Linked DNA regions of Homo sapiens: region 2 is linked to region 1. Evidence: promoter capture Hi-C in human tissues and cell types (Jung and others, 2019). All regions are on one chromosome and are shown on one strand. The core of a region is centred on a gene start or on the middle of the fragment in contact, and the rest is flanking DNA. Distances in the headings are between cores, read along the strand shown.

The links. Contacts are between HindIII fragments. The study calls those that stand out against the background at their distance.
Region 2: a fragment that was not itself captured here is called in contact with the fragment with the promoter of BAZ2A in region 1 in 1 of the 25 tissues and cell types used here (hippocampus).

Annotation. Positions count from the first base shown.
Region 1 is chr12:56,626,607-56,632,491 of GRCh38, forward strand. It overlaps BAZ2A (bromodomain adjacent to zinc finger domain 2A), which reads right to left and starts at 3,720. Exons shown (of 29, transcript NM_001300905.2): 1 at 3,519-3,720. RefSeq lists enhancers at 597-1,098, 3,877-3,926, 3,957-4,026 and a silencer at 3,307-3,656. The HindIII fragment of the contact is 8,774 bases long and covers 2,216-5,885 here.
Region 2 is chr12:56,206,524-56,212,408 of GRCh38, forward strand. RNF41 (ring finger protein 41) reads right to left here. Exons shown (of 7, transcript NM_005785.4): 4 at 3,774-4,045; 5 at 1,640-1,775; 6 at 1,123-1,226; 7 at 1-275. Among named protein-coding and RNA genes, the nearest start is that of RNF41, 12 kb to the right of the region's middle. RefSeq lists a silencer at 1,607-1,656. The HindIII fragment of the contact is 6,706 bases long and covers 1-5,885 here.

The DNA of each region.
Region 1 (5,885 bases), core at 2,470-4,969:
TTTCTCTGACAGAAAAATGCACCCATTTTATAAGAAGGCCATGAAAGGTTTGCTTCATTCAGCTCCCAATTCAATCATGTATCAAATGAAATCACTATTTTCTCAAAATCAGCTTTTCTTTTAAAAGTCCAAAGACTCAAGAGTAGTTATCTCTCCTTTCTTTACTCTTTTAACCCCCAACAGGGAAAATCAACTTGCTGTTCTGTCAAGTGCCAATTCAGGTAAGCAAAGGCTGAAGAAAGGGGAACTTAAAATCAGCATCAAATCAACCCCATCAGACAGCAACTTAAAGGAACTAATCAGGGGCAAGAAAAAGGATGCTGACATCAGATGGACTTGTTTTTACTGTTTCCAGAATATCAAAAACCCCAACAGCCCCAGTGAGAAGAGCAATGATGCTGCTATCTTACTAGTGATGATGCCACTTTCACACAATCATAAGTGTCTATCTGCTCCCATACTGGATCTTTAATCTAGGGATCTTCATCTAGGTGGGAGGGGTTTTTGCCTGGAAAATAAATAGTGAAAAGATGATTTAAATGACAGGCTTACGTAGTTTTCAGAATAGTCCAAATAATCTGAAAATGTTATCTTTCAAGGCTTGGCCCTGTGGCTTATGCCTGTAACCCCAGCACTTTGGGAGGCTCAATTCGAGTTCGAGACCAGCCTGACCAACATGGTGAAACCCCTTCTCTACTAAAAATACAAAAATTAGCCAGGCATGGTGGCGCATGCCTGTAATTCCAGCTACTGGAGGGCTGAGGCAGGAGGATCGCTTGAACCTGGGAGGCGAGGGTTGCAGTGAGTCCAGATGGTGCCACCGTACTCCAGCCTGGGCAACAGAGCGAGACTCCATCTCAAAAAAAAAAAAAAAGAAAAAGAAAAAAACAAAACTTTATCTTTCAAAATCTAAAATCCTGTGGTCCTGGGGTCATAGGCCGGGCATGGTGGCTCATGCCTGTAATCTCAGTACTTTGGGAGGCTAAGGCAGGCAGGTCACTTGAGCCCAGGAGTTCAAGACCAGCCTGTGCAAACTGGCAAAACCCCACCTCTACAAAAATTACAAAAAATTAGCTGGATGTGGTGGTGCGTGTCTGTGGTCCCAGCTACTCAGGGGGCTGAGGTGGGAGGATCACTTGAGCCAAAGAGGTCGGGGCTGCAGTGAGCTATGATGGCGCCACTGCACTCCAGCCTGGGCATCGGAGTGAGACCCTGTCTCAAAAAAAAAAAAAAAGAAAGAAAGAAAGAGAAAAGAAAAGAGAGAGAGAAGAGAAAAAAAAGAAAAGAAGAGAAGACCAGGCATGGTGGCTCACACCTGTAATCCCTGCACTTTGGGAGGCCGAGGTGGGTAGATCACCTGAGGTCAGGAATTCGAGACCAGCCTGGCCAACATGATGAAACGCCGTCTCTACTAAAAATAAAATAATTAGCTGGATGCGGTGGCGGGCTCCTGTAATCCCAGCTACTCGGGAGGCTGAGACAGGCAACTCGCTTGAACCCGGGAGGCAGAGGTTGCAGTGAGACAAGATCACACCACTCCAGCCTGGGCGACAAAAGCAAAACTCCGTCTCAAAAAAAAAAAAAAAAAAAAAAGACAGAAAGAAAAAAAAAGAAAAGAAAAAGAAAAGAAAGAAAAATAAAATTCTGTGGCCAACTGTTGCCCCTAACCAAATCCAGTGTGCCACAAAATGCCTGGGGACATAGCACACAGTCCATCACTATATGTTACAGGAGAAATATCCTGGGATTATCAAGTGAAAAGAAAGAAAAAAAAAATCTGGGCACGACTTTGCAGGGAACAGAGGAAAAGCTTACCAATCTCCAAGAAGAATAAGAGGGGAGACGTTCTTTTATGGATTAAAGAGTAAGTCATATGATAACAAACTGTACTATTCTAATTAGTTGATTCTGCAGAAGGTAGTATCTCCAGCACCCCTTAGTCAAATAACAAGCTTCCCACAGGGGCTGCCCTTAGGCTAGAATCACCACCAAGGACTGAGTTCACCAATCTCAGTCTGTTAATCAGTCCCTACCCCCGACACACAAATCCATCTAATAGTTAAATCTTCCTCACCCCTTCCTCTTCGTCCATTTCTTAGAATCTACCCTTCTTCACAAGCTCACTTGCTCAGGTGCTCTGCAATATAGAAACTGTCATAATAACTATACTAAAGTAGGACCCCAAGAAGCTACTCGTGCCACAAAAGCTCTCTAGTCTCCCTGACAGCTCTCTATGCTGAGGGAATTTGCATCACTTACATAGAGCGTACCCCGCTGGTAGATAACTGAGTTTGCTTCTCTATGACCTCTAGCTAAAGGGAAAACAAAACGAAACCAGACAGGAAGACAGAGATGTTCTGGAGAAGGGATTGGGATACGTGAGTCAACTGAAGTTGACTACTTCCAGTTGACAAGTTTACAAAAAAAAAAAAAGTCCAACGAAAGGTCTCTCGGGCCACATGGTTGGCAAGATCCAAGCTTGCCCAGAAGGCTTCAGAAAATGAAACCAAATCTGATTAAAATGGACATTTCAAAACAACAAGACACGCAGCAGCAAACGCACAGCTGCCATTTCCCGGCCACTTCCTGCGGGAGGCTGGGGGAGGGGCTGTTTGTGTACAGATAGAGGTGGAAAGCTATCCCCTCCGTCGTCCCCCAAAGCAGACAAATCTCTCACTCCAATTAACCCTACAAAGGACAACTGCTATTGACATTGCCTTCTCCTGAAAACTGGGAACACCGGGAAAGAAAGGGATGATGCGGTATCATCTTTCTGCCACGGAAGCGGGGATCCCCTCAGTGAGGAATCTCCTTGGAAAAAGGAATTCCTCTTTATTCTTCCCTTCTGCCCCTCAGCCCAGCTCAAATTGGAAAGCCTCAGCGGAAGCCCTATCAACCTCCATCCCCGGAGTGCGCGATTCTCCCGGGACGCGAGGGCCCCAAGCCAAGCGCAGCACCACCCTCAGCAAGGAAGGCCCTCTCCTGATCTTCACGCTCAAGAGAATGGGTGCGCTCCCCGAGGGAGACACCCTCAGACCCCTGGAAACCCCTTCCGCCCTCCACTCACCACAGTCAAAACGCCCAGCTCCCCGCAAACGGAGCGTTTTAACCCGCCAAGGGAACCCCCTCACCCACCCCTCGCGCTCAGGCAATCCCCACCCCCACCCGAGGAGGTGGAGCCCCTCCCGGGGATTCCACCCCAAGTCCCCCACAGGAGTCATCTCCACCAGCCAGGCGGCTTCTCCGCCTCCTCACTGTCGCCGGGAGCCCCTACAGCTCCTCCTGCCCCCGCGGCCCCGTCCGGGGTCCTCAGCAGCCCCACCAGCCCTGTTCTCCTCCCAGACCCCAGAGCAAGGAGACCCTCGCCTCGGGTTGGATCCTCGCAGGAAATAAGCTCCCGTCGGCTTCCCGCCCCGGCAAGGCTCAAGCCGGCTCTGGAGCTTCTGTTCCCCGAGGGAAGCCTCGGATGAAAGCGGGGCTCCCTCCCCCTCAGGCCCCTGGCCACAGACCCCACAAACCTGAGGCAGCGGCGTCCAGCCGGGCTCGGGGCTCGTCTCTCCCCGGGGTACAAGCGGTTCACATGGCCGCGCTCCGGGCGCCAGAACGGGTGGAGACGCCCGCTGGGGAGGGGGTCTGGGGTCCGGGGTTCGGGAAGGGGGAGGGGGACGCGGCTCAACCGCGGGGCCCGAGAGGAGCCAACATGGCCGGCGGGGGAGGAGTGAGTCGGAGCCGGAGGGGGCGGAGAAGCCTCGGCCGGGAGAGAGTCTCCCCACGCGGCCTCCGCCACAGGGTCCTAAAGCCCGCCAGCCCATCTTTCCGACCCGGACCTGGGTCCTAGCGCCGCTGTGCCTCCTGCAACTCTGGCCACCTTGCCCACCTGGCAGCTCCCTCTGCACCCGCATCTCATGGAGGCAGTGGTCCTGCTTCACACAGGGCAAACTGAAAGGCATGCCACAGTCCCAAGGTTAACTTAAAAGACTAGACCAAACGTCTAGGCCCAAAGGCAGGTGCCACTTCTCTAACAGGCTGGTAGGGGTAAGAGTCAGGGGAATTTCGGGGGCAGTTATTTCCCAGGTAGGGTAATGGAAACGTGGAAATAGAAAGGTTAGTCACTCAGGTCGCGATTCAGTAAAGGGATGGGGAGAGGCAAGAGTCAGCCACCCACTCACCTCTGTCCCTTCAGTGCAGCCTGGTCCTGCCTGGATCACCACTTTCCTGGCGACATCTGCAGGGCCCTGGTCACCGGAAAGGAAAGATTCCTGTGCGTGGGGGAAAGAAGGTTCGGCTCTGGAACCAGACAGCAAAGACCTGAGTGTAGCCTAAATGCAGTCAGAGAAGTAAAGGATAAGCTGAAAACTAATCAGCAAAAAGATGCCACAAATGTCCACCCATTCTATGGTTCTGGGAATTTTTTTCTGACAGGGCTACATAACTGTGTGAAAACTCAGAAAAGTAAAATCTAGCAGAGGACTAGAGTTTGGCTGTCACCTAAAATGTCCACTGCAGGGCACCAGGATGAAGAACAGTGTCATATGATGTTAGAGCTTAGAGAATTTCTAGTTCAGGCCGGACGCGGTGGCTCACGGCTGTAATCCCAGCACTTTGGGAGGCCGAGGCAGGTGGATCATGATGTCAGGAGTTCAAGACCAGCCTGACCAACATGATGAAACCCGGTCTCTACTAAAAATACAAAAATTAGCTGGGTGTGGTGGCGTGCCCCTGTAATCTCAGCTACTCAGGAGGCCGAGGCAAGAGAATCGCTTGAACCTGGGAGGTGGAGGTTGCAGTGAACTGAGATCGCGCCATTGCACTCCAGCCTGGGTGACAGAGGGAGACTCTATCTCAAAAAAAAAAAAAAAAAAAAATTCTAGTTCAACCTTCTCTCCTTCATCAAATGAAGAAATTAAGACCCAAAGAGGTTCAATGACTTCTTCAATGTCAAACAGTGGATAAAATATGACAAGAAAGGAAACCAGGTTTCCTTTCCTTGCAACTCAACACTTTGCAGCCTTGAAGATAATTCCCATTTAATTCAATGCAATGCAGTTCTAGAAACAGTTGCCTAAACTGTGCAAAGCTCAGGCTGCTGAATATTCTGGAAAAGCAACAGAGTGGGGATGATGAAACTCTGGCAAGTTGGGGTGTCAACAAATACGTTTTCCTCTGGGGGTCTGAGGAGGAAAGAGATCTGAAAAATGGGCAGAGTTGGGGGGTGAGATCCATCAGTCTACATTGGATTTCCTTACTCCACAGAGGGGTGGGCTCTTCCTGAATTTTGGGGAAAGACTCCACCCCTCCACCCCCCCACTACAAATGGCTCAGAGAGGATAAGAAGGAAGCTAGCTTTAGCAAAGGCTCACAGAGTGTGTGGGCCACAGACACAGAAGGCTAAGGGGGTTTCTCTTCCTCTCTCGAGATAAGTAGATTACCAGTGGAGGGAATAGGCAGGTGGAAACCAAAACCCTTCTCTCCTCCCTGTCAAAACAACAGATTTACAGGTCACCTTGGGGAAAAAAAAATACTCCTCCAACAGCCTGCTGACCTCAAGTCCCTGAGTAAGTAGAGGTCACACTCAGGGTAGAGGTTTCCTTCCTTCTGGAGAAAGGAGGGCTCTGGCAAACTTCTGCTAAGAAATGCCTCTCTATCCCCAAATAAAAAATTAAGGCAGGTGAAGAAAGGCATAAAACTGAGGCCTCAAGGGCGGCGGGATGGGGGTGTGGGTAAGGAAGCTGGTATCCTTTTGTCTTCCCTGCCCTTTTCCAGAGCAGATGAGGGAGAATCTTCCTACCTCCTGCTCCCAATCTTAAAGGGGGCCAGTCGGGGACTGGGCAGGCAGGGGAGGAGCCTGCGCCCGTCAGACGGGTGTAGCCACGCCCCTCCCCACA
Region 2 (5,885 bases), core at 2,058-4,557, 420 kb before region 1:
TCTCACAGGCCATCACGACAACAGCCTGCTTGCCAGGGATGCGCTTGGCCACGTAGTTCTCATAGTAGCGTCGGTTCATCTGTCTAGTCTCTAGTGTGGCCAGACCCTGGGGCCAGCTACGCTCGTGGGCATTTTCAATCAGCTCGTTGACAATAGAAGCAGGACAGCCACTCTCCACCAGGGAGCGCTTGATTACAGCCTGGAGCACAGCATCAGGAGTCGAGATCATCCCTCCCCAGCGGGTCACTCTTGCTGGCTGAAGGGAGTTCACCCACCTGTGTGGAGGTGGTTAAAGATGGTCATTCCAGCTCATCTCCTTTCTCTGTATTGGCTTTTTCTGCTAATAGAAATAACTACCCACTCTGCACTCAGCTTACCTATTCTTCCTTCTTTCCTTCCATCATTGGCTCAGAAACCCCAAATCTTTCCCCACTTGGTCCCAACTGAGTCACCACATGTTACTCACCAGATTAAATTCCACAAGTCTGCACTCTGTCTCTGTTACTTTTCTTTGAAATTCCAATACTTAGCACATATAGCGCCTAACACAGTTAGTGCTCTATGTTTAGTGAATAAAACAATTATTCCTCTATCCTATGTCCCACTCAGCACTATTTGCCCTGTATATATTGATTCACACTTACAGTTTACTCTATGAACTGTATAGGACTCCAGAACTGAAAGAGATCTTAGACTTCACTTGTATACTTCGCTTGTTTTTGCTGCATTTTAGAGATCACTTTCCTGGACTTGCACTCTGCCTCCTCTTCTCTGGGTTGTAAGCTACCTGAAGACAGGACGATATCTTCTATTTCTTTTTGGCCCTCCTAGCACTCCACAGCCTTTAATACAGGGCTTTGTACATGGGTACTCACCTAATTCTGGATAAAGTGCATCCTTGGGCAGGCTTTCCCTCCATCCACCCAAACACATAAGACATCCTGTAGTGGAGCTAAGGGTTATCCTCTTCTCCTCTGCCCCTGTCCTTAATGCCAATATCTGAGAAGCAGTGACCCCCAGCCCAGCTCTCCAATGCCCTCCTTCTGCTACTCTCCTGCTCTTCCTCCTTTCAGGCCTTGTTGTCAGGACATGAAATCACTCCACGTCCTGAGTGACACTCACTCTAGGATCTCGTTGTATTCAATTGTCTCCTCCAGGTTCTGAAGGTTGGGGTTGACACTGCGGATTGCACGCATGTATGCCTTTAGCAGCTGGATGTCTCGCTTCTGTTGTGGGGAAGAAGAACAGGAATAATGGTTAAGGCAGACAGCAGAAAAAAGACAAAAGTTTATCCAAGAATGAGGGCAACTGAGAGATCTGAAGAACAACCAGTTTGTAAGCTTCAGGAAGACAGGGATAAGACTGTCTCACTCACAGCTGTCTCCTTAGTACTTACAAATGTGCCTTCACAGAGGAGGCATGTGATAACTGGTAGGTGAATTAATGCTATGAATGGGATGAAGAAAAGTCAAGGAGAGCTCCAATCTGATTCCCTGCTAAGCCACAGGCAGAATATCCACTCATCTAGGCTCACAAGTGTAAGCACTGGTCTGTGTGTTCACAACTGGTTTTTATTACCCACAGGCAGGCAGTTATCTGCATATGAGGGATATGTTCTCCCCCGTGTCTTGGGGCCTACCTGCTCCGCCAGCTGGTGTTTGTGTTCAGCTGACGTCTTCTCCAGCTCTGCGATGCGTGTCTGCTGCTGCTGTACCACTGAGCGCAGGTGCTTAATGCAGTTATGGTTGGGCAGCTCATCTTTGGGCATCTCCAGGCTGCAGACCAGGGTGGGGAAAGAGCAGAACAGAGGTGATCCCTGGGACATGTATGCAAATGGCCTATTCTGTGGCAGATAACTGCTAAGTAGATTTTGTCCTACCCAAAATTTCTAACATTCATTTCAGGCCTCCCTCTTGTTTATTCCCTTCACTTTCTTCGTCCAAGCTTCCTACTTGCCCCTTTGCTGTCTATTTTCCTTAAATTTCTTTCCCCAATCAAGACACAGTGTTTTATCTATTTTTTAAATTTATTTTATTTTGTATTTTTATTATTTTTTTTGACACGGAGTTTCGCTCTTGTTGCCCAAACTGGAGTGCGATGGCATGATCTCAGCTCAGCGCAACCTCTGCCTCCCAGGTTCAAGCGATTCTCCTGCCTCAGCCTCCCGAGTAGCTGGGATTACAGGTGCGCGCCACCATGGCCGGCTAACTTTTTGTATTTTTAGTAGAAATGGGGTTTCTCCATGTTAGCCAGGCTGGTCTCAAACTCCTGGCCTCACGTGATCTGCCCCCCTCGGCCTTCCAAAGTGTTGGGATTACAGGCGTGAGCCACCGCGCCTGGCCTTTTTTTTTTTTTTTCGAGACCAAGTTTCACTCTTGTCACCCAGGCTGGAGTGCAATGGCACGGTCTCAGCTCACTGCAACCTCCGCCTCATGGGTTCAAGTAATTCTTGTGCCTCAGCCTCCCGAGTAGCTGGGATTACAGGTGCCCACCACCACACCTGGCTAATTTTTATATTTTTAGTAGAGATGGGGTTTCACCATGTTGGCCACGCTGGTCTTGAACTCCTGACCTCAGGTGATCCGCCCGCCTCGTCCTCCCAAAGTGCTGGGATTACAGGCGTGAGCCACCGCACGGGGCCTATTTATTTATTTTGACACACTGTTTTTATCTACTGCACAGCTCTCCTTTTCCTCCTACAGATTCTGCCTGTGCACTTATTCCTTCAGAGAAGCCCTATATTCACAGCCCCAGCTATCAACATTCTTTTTATTTTTTAGTTAGGGGGAACAGAGTCTCATTCTGTCACCCAGGCTGGAGTGCAATGGCGCGATCTCAGCTCACTACAACCTCTACCTCTGGTTTTAAGTGATTCTCATGCCTCAGCCTCCTGAGTAGCTGGGATTACAGGCGAGCACCACCACACTTGGCTAATTTTTTTTTTTTTTTTTTGAGACGGAGTCTCGCTCTGTTGCCCAGGCTGGAGTGCAGTGGCTCAATCTCTGCTCACTGCAAGCTCCCCGTCCCAGGTTCATGCCGTTCTCCTGCCTCAGCCTCCCAAGTAGCTGGGACTACAGGTGCCTGCCACCACGCCTGGCTAGTTTTTTGTATTTTTAGTAGAGACGGGGTTTCAATGTGTTAGCCAGGATGGTCTCAATCTCCTGACCTCGTGATCCACCCGCCTTGGCCTCCCAAAGTGCTGGGATTACAGGCGTGAGCCACCGCGCCCGGCCCCACACCTGGCTAATTTTTGTATTTTTAGTAGAGACAAGGTTTTGCCATGTTGGCCAGGTTGGTCTTGAACTCCTGGCCTGAAGTGACTTGCCCACTTCGGCCTCCCAAAGTGCTAGGATTACAGGTGTGAGCTAACATGCCCTTCAGCTATCAACATTTAGTCGAATATTTCATAACCCACAGAAATAAAAAAATAGGGCAAGAGGAAATATGAGAAGGCTGGCAATTATAGCAGTCAACCTGACAAACGGAAAGTAGTATTGGACTGAAAGGGAAGAATAGAGTCAATCAAGCTTTAATGTTATTACACAAATTTACTAAATTGCTGTGCCCCTTCTTTTGTTAAAGCAAGAGCAAAATGATTATAGTTGGAAAAGCAGCAAGAAAGTAAGATCTTAGAGCAGGAAGCCAAGGAGGCTAAGAATACTCCTTGCCAACATGCCAAAGAGACCTCCTCAGCTAGTGAGGAGGGCAGCCAGAGACAGGGGCATAAATGAGATGGCCCTTATCCATGTGGGGCAGAAGGGAACAAATCTCACCCACAGCCCTGTTCACAGGTCACAGGCCGCTTCGGGTTGTGCTCACAGTCGCTGAGGTGAGACATGAGGTTGTCAAGCCGGACAACGGCACTACAGCCGAACACAGCGTTGTCACAGGCAATCTGCAGCTTTGACAACATGTTCCGCATGATCCGAGGTACTGGGCGCAGATGGGCGACCGTCACAACACTACGGTCCACTGGACATGTCTGTTGCTGAGAGAACCACTGGGTGATGCAGGCGTTGCAGAAAGCATGTTCACAATGAGGTGCCTAGAAGAGAGAACAAGGCAAAAGGGGCGCAAGGGAATTAGCAGGACCTAAGAGCCTGGATATGATATAACTCTACAAAGCCAATCAAGCCTTTGAGCAGCCTCTACGACAAGAGGTCCACTGGGTCACAGCAAAGTATAGATCTACTACGGGCAAGGCATTGTAGGGGACAGGCTTAAGATACGTTTCCTGCTGGGCACGGTGGCTCATGCCTGTAATCCCAGCACTTTGGGAGGCTAAGGCAGGCACACTGCTTGACCTCAGGAGTTTGAGACCATCCCAGACAACATGACAAAACCCCATCTCTACAAAAATTACAAAAATTAGCCGGGCATAGGCCGGGCGCAGTGGCTCACGCCTGTAATCTCAGCACTTTGGGAGGCCGAGGCAGGCGGATCATGAGGTCAGGAGTTCAAGACCAGCCTGACCGACATGGTGAAACCCTGTCTCTACTAAAAATAAAAAAATTAGCCAGGGGTGGTGGCGCATGCCTGTAATCACAGCTACTCAGGAGGCTAAGGCAGGAGAATAGCTTGAACCCAGGAGGTGGAGGTTGCAGTGAGCCAAGATCACACCACTGCACTCTAGCCTGGGCAATACATCTCGAAAAAAAAAAGCTGGGCCTGGTGGCACGTGCCTATAGTCCCAGCTAGCCAGGAGGCTGAGGTGGGAGGATGGAGGATGGCTTGAGCCCATAAGGCGGAGGTTGCAGTGAACCAAGACTGCACCACTGCACTCCAGCCTGGGTGACAGAGCCAGAACCTGTTTCAAAATAAATAAATAAATATATATATATATATTCCCTGTGCTCAAGATTAAAAATGAGTTGTGAAACAAGACAAACAAGTAAAAAGTTATATAACAATAAGAGATACAAATGATATTCTAGGACAATAGGACAGATGACACAAGGCAGCCAATTATTAATTGCCATCTGGATTGCATACACAATAATTGCCAAAAATGTCCAGAGGAGGGTGAGGTCTTTTCAGGCTAGCTCAATCACGGCAGGTATTTATGAAGAGGACAGAATTTGATATGGGTCTTGAAGGATAATTCAGATGATAGATTTAGAGAGGAGGAGGACATATTTACTGGCAAAAATTCAATGTAAGAAAGCTAGGCCAGGCATGGTGGATGGCGCCTGTAATCCCAGCACTTTGGGAGGCTGAGGTGGGCGGATAATGAGGTCAGGAGATTGAGACCATCCTGGCTAACATAGCGAAACCCTGTCTCTACTAAAAATACAAAAAATTAGCCGGGCGTGGTGGCGGGTGCCTGTAGTCTCAGCTATTTAGGAGGCTGAGGCAGAAGAATGGCGTGAACCTGGGAGGCAGAGCTTGCAGTGAGCCAAGATCATGCCACTGCACTCCAGCCTAGGCTAAAGTGTGAGACTCCATCTCAAAAAAACAAAACAAAACAAAGCTAAATAAGGCCGGGCATGGTGGCTCATGCCTGTAATCCCAGCACTTTGGGAGGCCAAGGCAGGCAGATCACTTGAGATCAGTTCAAGACCAGACTGGCCAACATGGTGAAACACAGATATATTCATATATACATATGTATACACAAATACATATATATGCAGACATCTATTCATATTTGCTTATATCTGCCTTAAGACACACTGGAAGGATACCAAATAAACTAATAAAAATAGTTATCTGTGGGGGAATTAGGTGCACAGTAATAAAGACAGAAGTGAGAATTCTCACTGTATACCTTTTGATTTCTGAACTATGTTCATTTTTCACCTATTCAAAAAATAAATAATTATGATGTGGGGAAATCAGCATCCCTAGCAGGAGCCTTCTAACCTTAGAAATGTGTCTGGGAACCT